2 separate regions of the Homo sapiens genome follow, and region 2 is linked to region 1. Evidence: promoter capture Hi-C in 16 types of primary human blood cells and fetal thymus (Javierre and others, 2016). All regions are on one chromosome and are shown on one strand. Each heading gives the region's core, a stretch centred on a gene start or on the middle of the fragment in contact. The rest is flanking DNA. Distances are from core to core; before and after follow the strand shown. Region 1 has its middle 68 kb from the start of PSKH2. Region 2 holds the start of CA1 (carbonic anhydrase 1).

The links. The method cuts DNA at HindIII sites, captures the fragments that hold promoters and counts their contacts. A CHiCAGO score of 5 or more calls a contact.
Region 2: a contact is called between the fragment with the promoter of CA1 here and a fragment that was not itself captured in region 1, in 16 of 17 cell types (M2 macrophages, total B cells, naive B cells and 13 more). The highest score is 10.1, in M2 macrophages.

What each region holds. Positions count from the first base shown.
Region 1 is chr8:85,997,945-86,005,416 of GRCh38, forward strand. No RefSeq gene overlaps it. Among named protein-coding and RNA genes, the nearest start is that of PSKH2, 68 kb to the right of the region's middle. RefSeq lists an enhancer at 4,408-5,607 and a silencer at 4,902-5,102. The HindIII fragment of the contact is 4,134 bases long and covers 1-3,696 here.
Region 2 is chr8:85,372,253-85,379,780 of GRCh38, forward strand. CA1 (carbonic anhydrase 1) reads right to left here and starts at 5,861. Exons shown (of 8, transcript NM_001128831.4): 1 at 5,794-5,861. It overlaps LOC124901970 (a long non-coding RNA gene), which reads left to right. Exons shown (of 2, transcript XR_007060986.1): 2 at 1-486. RefSeq lists a promoter at 5,889-6,680. The HindIII fragment of the contact is 5,896 bases long and covers 5,654-7,528 here.

The sequences.
Region 1 (7,472 bases), core at 380-2,879:
CTCAGGTAAGATTGGCTGAGCTCCTGAAAAGTGACAATAGCATCTTCTAGTTTCCATTTCTGGGTTCCACTTTGGATGCCAATTCTATTACAAGAATTTTAACATCAAGATCTTATCTGCCCATCATCTTTGCTGCACTTTCAGCTTCTCTACAACTCTGGGGTTTCTGGGAACTGCTGAGGATGTCTACATGCATCTTCAAATCATTTTGGAGCTGGGCTCACCTCTCATCACTAGTGATCAGTGCTTGGCTCTGCTGAGCTACCACAGTCTTATCAATGCTTCATTCCAGGCTGCCACTTGCCTATGCTGCCATTTTTGCTCAATGCTCAGCTCTGAGCCAAAGTTTGTCTGCTGCAATATGGTGGCTTATGCTGTCACTGCAGAGCCATCTAAACTTGTGGTTCCAGAACTACTTAGAAATTAGTTGCAAATGAAAAGCTGAAAGCCTTTCTCTCCTCCATTGCATCTATAAAAAAAAGAGTCCCACAACAGGACTCTGAGGAGCCACAGAATTACACTCAAATCTTTCATTCCATAGACACCTCTCCACCAGGCTGGTTTTAGGTAATGGCCTATATGTGGTGCTAAGGATGCTCATCAGTGCTCATCAGTGCTCATCAATGCTCAGGTCTTATTTATGCCATGGCTAAACTACTTCCCTTAGGATGACTTCTCTCCTAGGCTACCCCTTGAAATTTAAATGCTGCCTCTCCCCATCTCAGTCCTCTCATTTCTTAAGATAAGGCTATATATTCTTGAAACTCATTTGTAGACACAGTTCAACTTTTTTTCCCAGGAAACTCTTAGGTCCAATGTTGAATGGTGGTTGCAAATAGATGCCTGAGCAACAGAGGTCTTACCTTATTCTAACAACAGATATTTCCAAATGTCAGGCCCTTCTTAGCTAGGACAAACCCTGCCCACCCCCACCATCTCACTCTCTCTCTCTCTCACACACACACACAGACACACACACATGCACATACACCTTCACATAGAAAATTAACCTTTCCTCATGGGGCACTAGGGTAACTAAGATTATGTGATGTCTGATAAGTCATTACCAAACCTTTCTTTCAACTAAATGAAACGAAACATTCAAATTGGAATTACTGTGCAAATTTTATATACTTTAAACTGATTTGAAATATTAATTTTACTAAACCATTAGTTTTACTGATGTAAACTTTTATTTTTAACCTTCTAGGAAACACATTTGAACCAAAATGATACATATTATCTTTATTTTGCAGCTGAGGAAGATTGAGGTTTAGTCCATCTATGGGGCACCTTCTTCCACCGCACTGCAATTTCCTTGAGGGCAGATATTTAATCTGTTTCTGGCACCCTGCAAAGGGCAGGCCACATAGTTTAAAAAAGTATGTTGAACTGAACTAAAAGGAGTTGGATGATTTTTCTAAAATTGCACAGTCAGAAAACAGCACAGCTGGGACTAGAATACAATTTTGGGTCCAGCTTTCTTTAATATATATCTAACAAAAAGGTGTCTATAGTTTTGCATTCTGTGACCATATTACCGTGCTTATTTCTTTCTTCCCAGGAACTATACTTAACCTTTTAGATCAAATATGAGCAGCCCCTCAAGACCACTGGACCCTCCTCCCTGGCCTGCATATTTGGTGTAACTGCATCCAATTTCTTCAGCCTAAATAAACAAAAATCCTTATTAGGTCCTTTACTTTTTTCACAATCTTACTTTACTTCTTTATCTGCATTTGAATGAACTAAATAAGCTCATTACCTTGTTTCCTTTCCTTTCCTCATATTAATTCTTTCTCAAACTCACCTTTCTTAAGAACCAGCTTCAGTCACCTTAAGATTTCCAGAGTCAGTTGCATAATACTGAGTACAGTATTCCTGCACTCCAGTCTATCAAAAGCCCCTTTCCCTTGAGTGATTCCTATCCTTTCTCTGTGCCTTGCCTGCAACCCATTCCGATTAGAAACCCAGTGGACAGAGAATGTGCGTAATGCTACGTTCACTTCAGAAGCCAGCATGAAATTGAACAGTACTGTCAGTAGCAGCTATGACCATATTAACATTCAGAATCTTAATTAACTAGAAGACAATTTCATTAACACAGTTATATTAAACGCTCTTAGGATATGTTTACCTCATTTTAATTATTGCTAAAGTAATGGGCACCAGTGAGAAGCTGATACAATAGTGAAAGCCTCAGGAAAAATTCTCCGGAGCAATCTTCAAGGTGCTCTTATGCTTCAGAACACATAATCTTTATTGTTGCTAAATCATTTCTATACTGGAAGTAACTGCTATTAAGTAGTCAAAGCAATATGTTACACATATTCTCATGTTTTAGAGACCATCTATGAATGGGTAAATATGCACGTTGGGTGTGTAGATAATTCAACACAGAAATTCTATTATTAATGGGAATTATGCACTGCCTTCTATATGACACCAAAAACCTACCTCTAAAAACCTAATTATTACTTACTGCCTTCTCTTTATATGAAATAGTAAAACAATCATTAATGACTCATAAGCCTCAGATTTTCACCATGAAATTCTTGTGCAATGTTACAAATGTCCCTGGACAGGTTGTGTTTTGTAGCTAATGCTAATAGAGGACAGGAGGCTATGGACAGTACATCCTTGAATTGCCTCTGAAAATAAAACTGTTCTTTTTTGTATACAAACACATCTCTATCTGAAATATACTTTTCCTTATATATCAAGAATTGACATAAAAGGGTCATTTCTGGAATACTCCATGCACAATTTTTTTATTTTCTGTATAGTAACTAAAATCCTAATCAATCAAACAATTTTTCCTAAGTTTGTAATAGCAGAATAAAGTCATAGTATTTAAATTTTGTTATTATTAAATAATTATGGGTCATCCATGCCTATAAAAAATCTCAATTTTTTATTTTAACTAAATTCTGTATAATTTATTGAGTGCTAGTGCTAGAACTGGGTTTATCCCTCTCAGTGAACCAAGGAAGTGAGGATATTTTTGCCTTCTTGAAGTTCACAGCCAATCAAGGAAAATCCATTGAATAAGTATTCATAGGACTGCTGAATGCTTTAAATGGGGATGGAGAGGCACTGACAGAAGCATATAGAAATATAATTTAACTTAAACAGAAGGCCATTGCCTCATGAGCTAGAGAATGGTCCACTGTGTCTTTCCATTAAGCAGTGCACGTAAGCCAATTCAGTAGTGCAAGGCAAACCTAGTTAGCTCTATTGGTTACAACTTCAAGCTATTATTTAATTCCATTTTGGATCACTTCACTTCTTTGTCATAGAGAAATCTCTTTCCATTCTTTCCCTTACCCAGGCTGGTTGTGCAGGTCTCTAGCAACATGACCTGAAAACTGGGTGTGAGAATATAAATGATCAAGCATAAACTCCTCCACTGGCAAGTGTGTATAAGAAAAGATCCTGCCGATTGGGTCAGTAGCTACATTGGTATGTGACTATGAAACTTACTGCTCAGGCATAGCTTAGAAATATCTTTAGATGAAGATGAAAAAGTGAAATTTTGCCAGCTTGTTTATTTAAATGCACCCTAAATATATGAGGAAAGAAAGGTGATATTTCATGGACTCTAGAACCAGAATTATGTACATTAAAATACACACTGTATTTTTCAAAACCATTCTGCTCTCAAGCAGTAAAATGAAGGTACCAGGTTTTTATTGAAGCTTTTTAAAATAGGCAAGCACAGTATTTTACTCACATGTACTAGGCAATCAAAAATATTTTGTTGAGTGAACGAATAAATGACTGCAGAGCTGAGTCAGTGGACTCAGGTCCTGGCCAGACCAAGTGCCTTTTTATGAGGAACCAAGTTTGCCTTCTAACAGGCTACACAAGATCAAATTGTGTTGGCAAGATAGGATTTTCCTGCATTTTTCTTTTGGCAACTTCGTTACGAAGATTATTTTAGCTTCACTTTCCTCTCAAGGAGAAACTGACAAGACAGGAGCCTTTCCACCATCTTCCTCGATGAGTTTTGGTGAAATTACCACCTTGAAAAGGAGCACACAGCAGCCCTGACTGCAGATCTCCTGAGCATAAAGCAGCTGTTCTCCTCAGGACAGCTTGGGTCTCAGCAGGCACACTGCAAAGAGAGGGGAGGAAGAAGCAGGGAATAAGGGAGGAAAGCATTGCTTATTCCTGCTGGGACCCTCATTCCCACTTCGGATTCATCTGGGTTGCACGTTCTGTTAAGTTGACCAGACAGTGCCATCTCACCAAGACTTGCCTCTTACTCCCAAATAAATACTGAAGCATCTTGACAAGTAGGCACATAGTTCACTTCCTTTCTATCTGGACAGATGGCCACAGACAATTTTAACATGTGATTTTACCTAGAAGTGAAGAGGTGTCCACATGTCCTTAGAGAGTTGCACAGATGATTCCAAAGACAGAACTGCCATGGGATTCAGAGATGGGAAATGTCACAAGGAAAAGTAGACATTGACCAGACGACATGGTTTTTCTGATGCTTGTTTGAGCCCACAATATGTTGGCATCATGTTATTCCTCCTAAAGAGAGTAATTTCTACAAATATTTAAATGACTGAAATAATATCATCTTCCAAATTCTCCATGGAGAAAAGAATCAAGCACGAAATGCCCCCTGCCTTGTACATCTCAATTGTATTCTCCAATAGGAGATTTTTCCTGCTGTGTAGCCATCAGTGTGCGTGCCTCATAATGGGAATTAACACCTGCAAATGCCTGCCAAGTAATAAACATCATGATGTTATTATATTCTAAAGAAATTGGCCTTCATAAATCACGTAAGTTCAATGATGCGTCAACACATTTGAATTAATCATAGATGATACCAGTACGATAGGGCTCTCCTTATCCATGGTTTCATGTTGTGCAGTTTCAGTTACCCAGAAACAATTCATAACTTTAAAATTGCACAGTGTTCTGAGAAGTGTGATGAAATCTCATGGCATCCTGCTCCTACCTGCCGAGGACGTGAATCATCCTTTTGTCTAGCATATCCACGCTGTATACAGTCCCCACCCATTACTCACTCAGTAGCTGTTTATCAGATTCACTGTAGAGTTATCGCAGAGCTTATGTTCAAGTAACCCTTAATTTACTACATAATGTCCCCAAAGCACAAGACTAGTGATGCTGCCATATTATTATAATTGTTCTAGTTTAACCTTAGTTATTATTATTAATCTCTTACTGTGCCTAACTGATAAATTAAACCTTGTCATAAGTATATATCTATAGAAAAAAAAACATAGTACATACAGGGTTCCATACCATCCACAGTTTCAGGCACCCTGTAGGGGCCTTGGGATGTTTTCCCCGTGGATAAGGGGAGACTACTTATTCTTTTTGATAAAATGTGCATATGAAACAAGAACTGCAAGAACAAATGGGTAACTATGCAGGGTACCTCCTGGTCTCGGTACAGAAAAAGTAACATATGGCTTTAAGCAAGGGTTTTCTTGATAAAAATTAAAATATCAGGTGCAATTGTTAACATTTTGAAAAATTTTAAATGCCTCACCCACCTTCATTCTCTTAGCACCTATATCCATTCTGCCTCACTTTTTGACCCTTTCAATATATGGAAACAATGTACTACACTAAATTCCAGGTTTTAGCAGTTAAAAATCACTGAGAAAAACAGAAGGAGAGGTCTTACCACTGTTCTACTTACTACAACTCTCTCTGGATATCTCAGAGATGTGTTTGTGTTTCTTGGGTGGGAGAAGCACGTTGGTTAGCACAAGATTTGACAAATGTAATTTTCCATCCCACTGAATGAATTTTGTCCATCTTAAGATGACATCTTAAAGGACAAAATTTGAGGATTACTTTTTTGCAATTTGAATAATTTACACTATGTTTCTAAAACACTTGGTACAAATTCAAATCTTTTCCTTATGAAGCATAACTGATATCACCTACAAAATAAGGTCAGATTTTCTTTATTACTGAAGTTAAAATTGCTTCAAACTGTTGTCTAAGTTAATCATAAGAGTCCTTCTCCTCTTCCCAGGGTCACCCTCCCTGAAAATTCCAAGGCCTCATGCCCTTGACACCTGTCAATCATTTCTTGAGGCTCTTTCCAACAGTTTGGGCTGGAATTCAGGTGTAGCCCTTTAAGGCTGGGGAGCCTCACTAACAGCCAGGCTGCTACTTATTCTCATAATTCCTGTAGCACATGCCTTGGAGTTCTTAACCATAATATAACAGGACAGGAGGTGTCGAGTGGTGCCACCACTACTGCCATGTGGAGAATATTCCATGTGCCATGGTTGTGGGTGCATGTTCCTAGAGTCTCTCAGATAACAGGTGGCAAGAATGAGGGGTCTCTCTTGCTCCTCAGATTTGGATTCACCAGTGGTCATTTCATGCCACCAAAAGTCTGCAATCCAGTCTTTCAGTTTCTTGGTTCGTACTCACAGGCCACACAAAGCTGCCCAATGGTATAATTTTGGCTAAATCAGGAAAGATTCCCAGCCTCAGCTGCAGGCTGTGCCTACACCTCAAGTCTTCCAGGACCACTTGATCTGGACATTAAGCCCAGAAGACTGCGTGTTCTGCCCTGCCAGCTGAGTACAAGTGCAGATTTCATAATGCATTGCTGATAATCTAACAAAATTTGATTGCCAAAGGGAAGGGTTTGTGGTTTCCATCAATTTTCTCCTGAGGGCCTAGTTTTTGTCTTATTATGAACAATGATCCACTCCTTCTAAAACAGAATTCCAGTTTTATAACCTTAAGAACGTTAATTGAGAGGCAAACAGGCTTGTTGGTCAACTTTTAAAAAGATGTCCTATTATAACCTTTCTGTAGGTTATTGGGTGCTGCCTTGCTGCATAGATTCATAACTTAACTCTGTCTTCCCAGAACACAGGCGAGCAGCTCCAAGGTAGCTTGTGGTCTTCAGGGCACTTCAATATCAAGAGAACAAGAAAAAAATTAGTAAACATAAATCTAAAGTAGGGATTTTACCACCTTTTTCAGATTTTTTTTTTTACATTAAAACGTTCTTAAAATATTTGGAACATAAGAAGAGGTTTTTCATACTCCAGGATCACAGTCATGTAAATAAAAAGGCAAGTAACACATTATTTGAAAACCCATCCATCCTCCTACCAGAGCAGAAAACTGAGTTCAGAAAAATTGAACTAAGGCCTTTGAAACTGGGCAACCCAGCATTTCCTGGACCATAGCAGGCATACAAGAAACATTGCTGATTAAAGAACAACTGTAGAAATCCATGTTATTTGGTGAAAGAGCTAGATCAGTGGGCCAGGCTTTCATTGCTGGCAAGAGACTTCTCAGGAGGGTGAGTGTTTGCTTCTTCCGTCTACTAGGGTTCCATCTATGTAGGTTTAATCCTAAAAATAACAACTTCCTTTTTCTTTCAGCATCCCTCCCTGCAGTGGTCCTTTCCTACAGATCAGGAGGACCAGATCACCTGTCAG
Region 2 (7,528 bases), core at 4,611-7,110, 620 kb before region 1:
CTTTGTACTCATCAGACGGCTACTATGAAACAAAAAGAAAACCAACCAGACAAAAATACAGCAGAAAACAAGTGTTGGCGATGATGTGGAGAAATGAGAACCCTTGTGCATTTCTGGTGGGAATGTAAAGAGCTGTCACCATTGTGGAAAGCAGTATGGTGATTCCTCAAAGAATTAAACACAGAACTACCTTATGGTCCAGCATTCCACTTCTGAGTATATATCTGAAAGAAGTGAGAACAGGGGATTCTACAGATATTTGTACACCTGTATTCATAGCAGTGTTATTCACAATATTCCAAAGGTGGAAACAAACCCAGTGTTTATTGTCAGATGAATGAATAAACAAAATGTGGTACTATATATACAGTAGTTTCCCCCTTAACCAAAGCTTTGCTTTCCTCTGTTTCAGTTATGTATGATCCACCACAGTCCAAAATTATTAAATGGAAACTTCTAGAAATAAACAATACGTTTTCAATTGCATGCCATTCTGAGTAGTGTGATGACATCTCACAGCATCCCACTCCATCCTGATGGGGCCGTGAATCTTCCCTTTGTCCATCATATCGCCTCTGTACATGCTGCCCTCCCCTTAGTCACTTAGTAGTCTTCTCAGTTATCAGATTTTCTGTTGCCATGTTGCAGTGCTTGTGTTCAAGTAACCCTTATTTTACTTCATAATGGCCCCAAAGCCCAAGACTTGTGATGCTGGTAATTTGGATATGCCAAAGAGAAGCCATCAGTCCTTCCTTTAAGTGAAAATTTGAAAGCTCTTGGCTTAATAAGGAGAGGAAAAAAGTCATATACTGAGGTTGCTAAGATCTACGGTAAGAACAAATCTTCTATCCAGGTAATTGTGAAGGAGGAAAAAGAAATTCGTGCTAGTGTTGGTGTTGCAACTCAAACTGTAAAAGTTACAGCTACAGTGCAAGATGGGTGTTTCGTTAAGACGGAAAAGACATTAAATGGGTGGGTGGAAGACATGAATAGAAAACATGTTTTGATAACCACCAGTTGCACCAGAAAGCACTGAGCATCTGCGAAGACTTCAGCAAGCAAGAAATGAGTTGACACCACGCCGCAAAGGGCTGGTTACACTGATTCAGAAATACAGAAGGTCAGTAGCAGCCTATGGCTACATCACAATGCTTACATCATTCACCTCTTGTCATCTCATCACAGAGGCATCACAGCATCTCCCATGACAAGAAAGGTGAGTACAGTACAATGCAATATTTTGAGAGAGAGAGAGAGACTACATTCACATAACTTTTATTATGATATATTGTTATAGTTGTTCTATTTTATTATTAGTTATTGTTGTTAATCTCTTCCTATTCCTAATTTATAATTTAAACTTTATCATAGATGTGTTTGTATAAGGAAAAAAACATAGTGTTTATAGGGTTCGGTACTAGCCATGGTTTCAGGTATTGTCTTGTAACGTATCCTCACAGATAAGGGGGACTACTGTATATACAAGGGAATATTATTCAGCCTTAAAAAGAAATGATACATGCTACAATATGGAGGAAGATTGAAGACACTATGCTAAGTGAAATAAGCCATATACAAAGGGACAAATACTGTGTGATTCCACTTATATGGGATAACTAGAATAGTCAAATTTATAGAGCTAGAAAATAGAGTAATTGCTGCCAGAGCTCGGGGGAGGAAGGAGTGGGGAGTTATTGTTTAATGAATATGGAGTTTCAGTTTGGAAAGATGAAAAAGTTCTGGAGATGATGCGCGATGGGGGTTGCACAGCAACGTCAATGTACTTAATGCCACAGACCTGTATACCTTAAAATGTTTAAAGTAGTAAATTTAATTTTACCACAAAAAGAATACAAAATTAATAATAAAATTAGTGACAAAAGTGAATATCTATTTAGAACAAGAAAATGATTTATAATAAATCAAATATTTTACAAAGTTAAATATCAAAAATATCACAAAATCTAAAAAACAATATTTCATATTCAGCCACTGCCAGACACAATCCTCTAAGAGCTTTTATCTATATTTTAATTTCATAATTCTGGATTATCTCTTCATATAGCAAAAATTTTATATTATTTTCTGTAGAGAGAATAGAAAGATATTTCAGTCTTATTTCAAGCATGGTTGATTAAAATTTTTGTTTGTTCTTATTAATACTGGGATTCATAAAACTTCACACACATTTGAAGTACTGCTATAGGTTTGTGTCTTAATACACAGGATTCTTTAATTTTGTACTATTTTCATCAAAAAAATTTTGTAACATATGATGTGGTTTTAATCGTACGTAAGACATTATCAGATACATTCCTGAGAGAACCTGTCTTAACTAGGTTTTCTGGTCAAATTCTAAAACCAAATTCTCTGCCTGCAGCTTTACACACTGGATGATTGAAATTATTTTCCCTCGATTAGCTCTGTCTCTGTGCATTTCACCATCTGTTTCTCTTCAATAACCTACAAATTTCTGAACCTGGGAGCCATTAGGAAGCACACTTTCACTTTTCAATATGACTTCTGGCCCTGCATATTTGTTTTGGCATAGTGGATGCTACCCTGAATGGCTAGCAATAAATTATCAATATACAGAAATGACTGATACCCACATAAATATGACCCACTAAAGCCAAACTAAAATTATTCTCAACTCAACTTTCCCCATTTGGGTCTCAAAAATGCCCACAGCCCCTCCAATACCACCTGATACAGGAAATATGATGCCGTACAGTCAGAGTAAAATGATAATGGGGTTGACTGATTGTGGTTAAATATCTTTTGCAAATTTTATATAAAACATATGATTGTGTGAACACATTTCTTGTGCCCTTCTGGGATCTTGGAAGTAAATCAAGCAATGAATGGTCTTACAGCTTAAGCATCATTATTTTTACAATATTGCCACCTCTGCCTAAGTCTGTCTCACTCCAACATTTTTGCTTCTCTCCACTGTGCTATTCCACCTTAGATAATTGTAAAACATTAGGACAAGGGCAATGAGAGAAACCTAATTAGACAGGAAGGACACACTAAAGAAAGACACATGAAACAGCCTGGAAAGAAGGCTTCGGAGGGAAGAACTCACCTATCGCATGCTGGCCTGTCCTGGCATTGCACTGTTTTATTTTATGTATTTTGTTACCACTTTCAGAAAATTAACAGCACAGCTCTGCCCAACTAGCACATCTAATGCCATGTGCCACCCACCCGCCCTACACTGACCAGTGGTGCCATAAAATACCTGTTTTTTTCCTTTTCTTTTGAAAAAAAAAAAAGATTAGAACAAATAGAAAGATTAGAACAAATGTTGGCATGATAGAAACAAGGAATAAAATAGGCAGAAACATCCCAAGGGAAGATCTACATGCTCTAAATGAGTTTGTGTCTCTTGGAGAGGAATAAAATCCAGAGCACGGAGAAAGTTCAGATAAGATGGATGAACCTCAAAATAACTCGAGGTGCAGTGAAGACTCAGGCAGAACAACTGTATCCTGGCACATGCTATCCCAAATTTCAAAAATAGAATGGTGGATGTAGGTGAGCTATAGATCATGAGCTTGATGCAAATGTAGGTAATATTCTGAGATACAGTATTCAGTAGATAGTGTTAATCACGTAGGGAATGGTCAATAAAATGACAAAAGGATTCTTGATATTGAACTGGATATAAAACATGTAAAAAGCAAGTTGACTCCAATCAGGCAATAAAGAGATTGAATTCAGTCGAGTAGTGAATAATATCCTATAGAGGGAATTTCAACTATCAAATTACACAGTTATAAGTTATAAAAGAAGCTGGGCATGGTGGCTCATGCCTTTAATCCCAGTACTTTGGAAGGTCCAAGCTGGTGGATCGCTTGAGGTTAGGAGTTCAGGACCAGCCTGGCCAACATGGCGAAACCCCATCTCTACTAAAAATACAAAAATTGGCCGGGTGTGGTAGCGCATACTTGTAATCCCAGCTACTCGGGAGGCTGAGACACGAGAATTGCTTGAACCGGGAGGCAGAGGTTGCAGTGAGCAGAGATCATGCCACTACACTCCAGCCTGGGTGACAGAGTGAGATTCTGTCTCAAAAAAACAAAAAAGTTATAAAAGAGGTAACTTTAAAAATTGGGTAAGGGGGCCGGGCACGGTGCCTCACACCTATAATCCCAGCACTTTGGGAGGCCGAGGTAGGCGGATCATCAGAGGTCAAGAGATTGAGACAATCCTGGCCAACATGGTGAAACCCTGTCTCTACTAAAAATACAAAAATTAGACGGGCGTGGTGGCACATGCCTGTAGTCCCAGGTACTCCGGAGACTGAGGCAAGAGAATTGCTTGAACCCAGGAGGCAGAGGTTACAGTGAGCTGAGATCACACCACTGCACTCCAGCCTGGTGACAGAGAAATTGTCTCAAAAATAAATAAATAAATAAATAAATAAATAAATAAATAAATAAATAAATAAAACTAGGTAAGGGTACACATGATATACTAGACTGCATGAAACAGTGTGAATTTGGAAAGCTCTGTTACCTCAAGGAGATGCCCAGCAGATTGACTTTCGGGTCGTGTAGAGGCACCCTGGGCATGTGTGGTACCTAATTAGGTCCCTGACCCTCTCTCAAATTCTTTAACTGACACTTCAACCCTGGCCTTGATTCTCTGATACAGTATCCTCAGCCCAATCAGATCATACATCTATCTATTCTCTTTATTTGCATAAGTGGATTTACAATACTGGGAGAAGAGAGAAATAACTATAAGAATGTTGAAGTTAGTCAAATCCACAATATTAACACATTTGTATTAACTTTAGAAATTTAATTATTTAATCCTTGAGATAACCTATGAAAGATTGTTTGTTAAGTTACTTGAAGCATTTAATATAACCTGATATATTAGAAAATCAGATATATGAACCATATAATTTCAATTTTAAAGTACAAGAGCATTTTCTTCAGTCTATACACAGTGTTTGAATGTTTAAGAGAACATAACTTACTACTGCATAAATTTGGTTTATTACTTTTACTGGAATTGCTTTAATTATTAGAGCCCCCTCCCTCCTTTTATAAACTTGCAAGATGTATAAAAGATACTAATGTGTCAGGCATTTGAAATGCTTGAGAGATTCAGGTAGACTAAATTTGTAATTGATATAATATATAATATTTAAAGGAACTTAATTAACCAAGTCTATCAATTGCATTATTTGTTTAGGGGAATTAACGTCAAATTGAACATTAGTCATGGAATAATTTTAAATGGTAATTTATATTGGCTGGGCACAGTGGCTCACGCCTCTAGTCCCAGCACTTTGGGAGGCTGAGGAGGGCAGATCACCTGAGGTCAGTAGTTCGAGACCAGCCTTGCAAACATGGTGAAATCCCCTCTACTAAAAATACAGTAATTAGCCAGGTGTGGTGGCATGTGCCTGTAATCCCAGCTACTCGGGAGGCTGAGGCAGGAGAATCACTTGAACCTGGGAGGCAGAGGTTGCAGTTAGCAGAGATGGTGCCACTGCACTCCAGCCTAGGCTGCCAAGTGAGACTCTGTCTCAAAAAAAAAAAAGGTAATTTATATTATCCTTTTCAGATTTACAGATTTACAGAGATCTGCTTGATAAATATAAAAGGTTTAGAAAAACTATAAAGGTTTTTTAAGCTTTGCAGCTTTCATTCATTGAATAGTAATTAAGATGTAGGTAGGACTGTATTTTACAAGATTTAAAGATTCTTTTGGCAGTCGGATAAAACACTTCAATGCTCAGCTAGATGAAAGGCAGAAGTCTTTGTTACTTACAGCTCTGAATGAGAGAAGGCTGCCACAGAGGACCACGCAGGGGGTTGCACCTGAGGACTGGGTACCACAGGCTGGAGGGGGAATGGGCAGCTTATGTACAGCAAAAAGGGTGGGGTTAGCTAGGTTGAATAATTTTGAATAATTTGCATAATTTTGGCGGGCTTTGGGGCATGGGCGCTGTCCTTAATTGTCTGATGTCTGGCCCTGTGGTGATTAGAGTGGGTACATAGTGGCCCCAGAGTGTGAGAACCTGATAAGGGAAGTGGTTGGGGTGTGGATTTAATCAGCTGCTCAAGAGAGGAAACTGACCAGCCTCTAGCCAAGGCCTCCATACTAGGTCAAGACAGCACAATAATCAATAAAAATACCATATATGAAATATATTTAGTCACTGATTCCTTTATATCTTGATGTCGATTTTGAACTCAATTATTTGGGGTGTTTGAGTGGCCTGAATAGTAGAGGAGACTTCTACAGAATAGGGCCTAAGTTGCACTAAACAGCATAGAAAACATTTTATTATGACAATAACAAGGAAGAAACCAAGTAGAAATGTGACAAGTCCCTGAAGGCTGACTCGTAACCAGGCTCCCATTTGTTTGGCGTTGGCCAGGAGAATACATCAGTCATGGCAAGGGCCTTTAGTCATATTTTGACTGGATTTCAGAGTGTGTTAAATATGTAAGGCATGTTTTTTTAGGGTGATGGTTTTCTGATCCAGGCTTTCTGTTAGAATGACCTCTTGATTGGTGGTGTTAACCCACCTACAACAAGAAGCTCTAATAATGTTACAAACACCTCTTTGACTAGTTAATATATAATCAAGGACAAATTTACTGTCAAAAAACATTTTTGCCAAAGCTCCCTGGTTTAGCAGGACTAATATTTGCTGTAACTTAGAAATATGATATACTAGAGTTTTGGACATTTGTAGGGTAGCATCAATTATTTTTGACTGTTGGGCTAAAGCAATGGTCCTTGTGGCCATCGCAGCAAGTCCCAGAGCAGTGGTGAGTCCCAGTATTATAGGTACAAATGTGGCACATCAATGACATTTGGCTGGGTAGGGAAAGAATAATTAACATTTATATAAATAGGAATGCCAAGAGAGGCCAGAATGCATCTCGTGGCTTCCAGTTTCAGAGTAATGGAAGGGCAAAGGAGAGGGGATAAACACCCTTGTTGGTTGGGACACAATATAGTTTTGTGGCATTACCATTAGACTGGAAAATTGTACCTTGATTTAGGTAAAGGGAAATTACTAAAGAATGGGACTGGAGGAAGACAGTGGCTTTTGTTGGGCATATGGTGAGAATATGCAGTTGTTCATTGGGTAGCCCATCTGTGGTATGTATTGAGGAAATACGAGTGCAGTTGCCACTTGCCATGAGGGGGCACCCCAATACAGAAGAAAAGGCCGTTTGGAAGTGGTTTTCATTTCTCAGTATTTTTCATCTCTGGGGCAATTATCAGTTGGGTAAATGTGTGATGTGGGATATGTGGAAGCAGGGTGATGAGTTATGGATAGTCAGTGCAGAAGAGCCTACTTCAGTCAAATGTGTTTGTATTTTGGATGTCTGTATAAATATCAGAGAAGCTGGGGCAGTGGGTTTGAATTTTACTTACGTAGTCTTTTAGAGGGCAAGAGGAGAAGATGCTGTTAGGACGGAAAAGATAGGGGTGGGAGTAGGGATACTGACAATGAGAAAGGGAAGGCGAGGAGGATGGAAGGGAA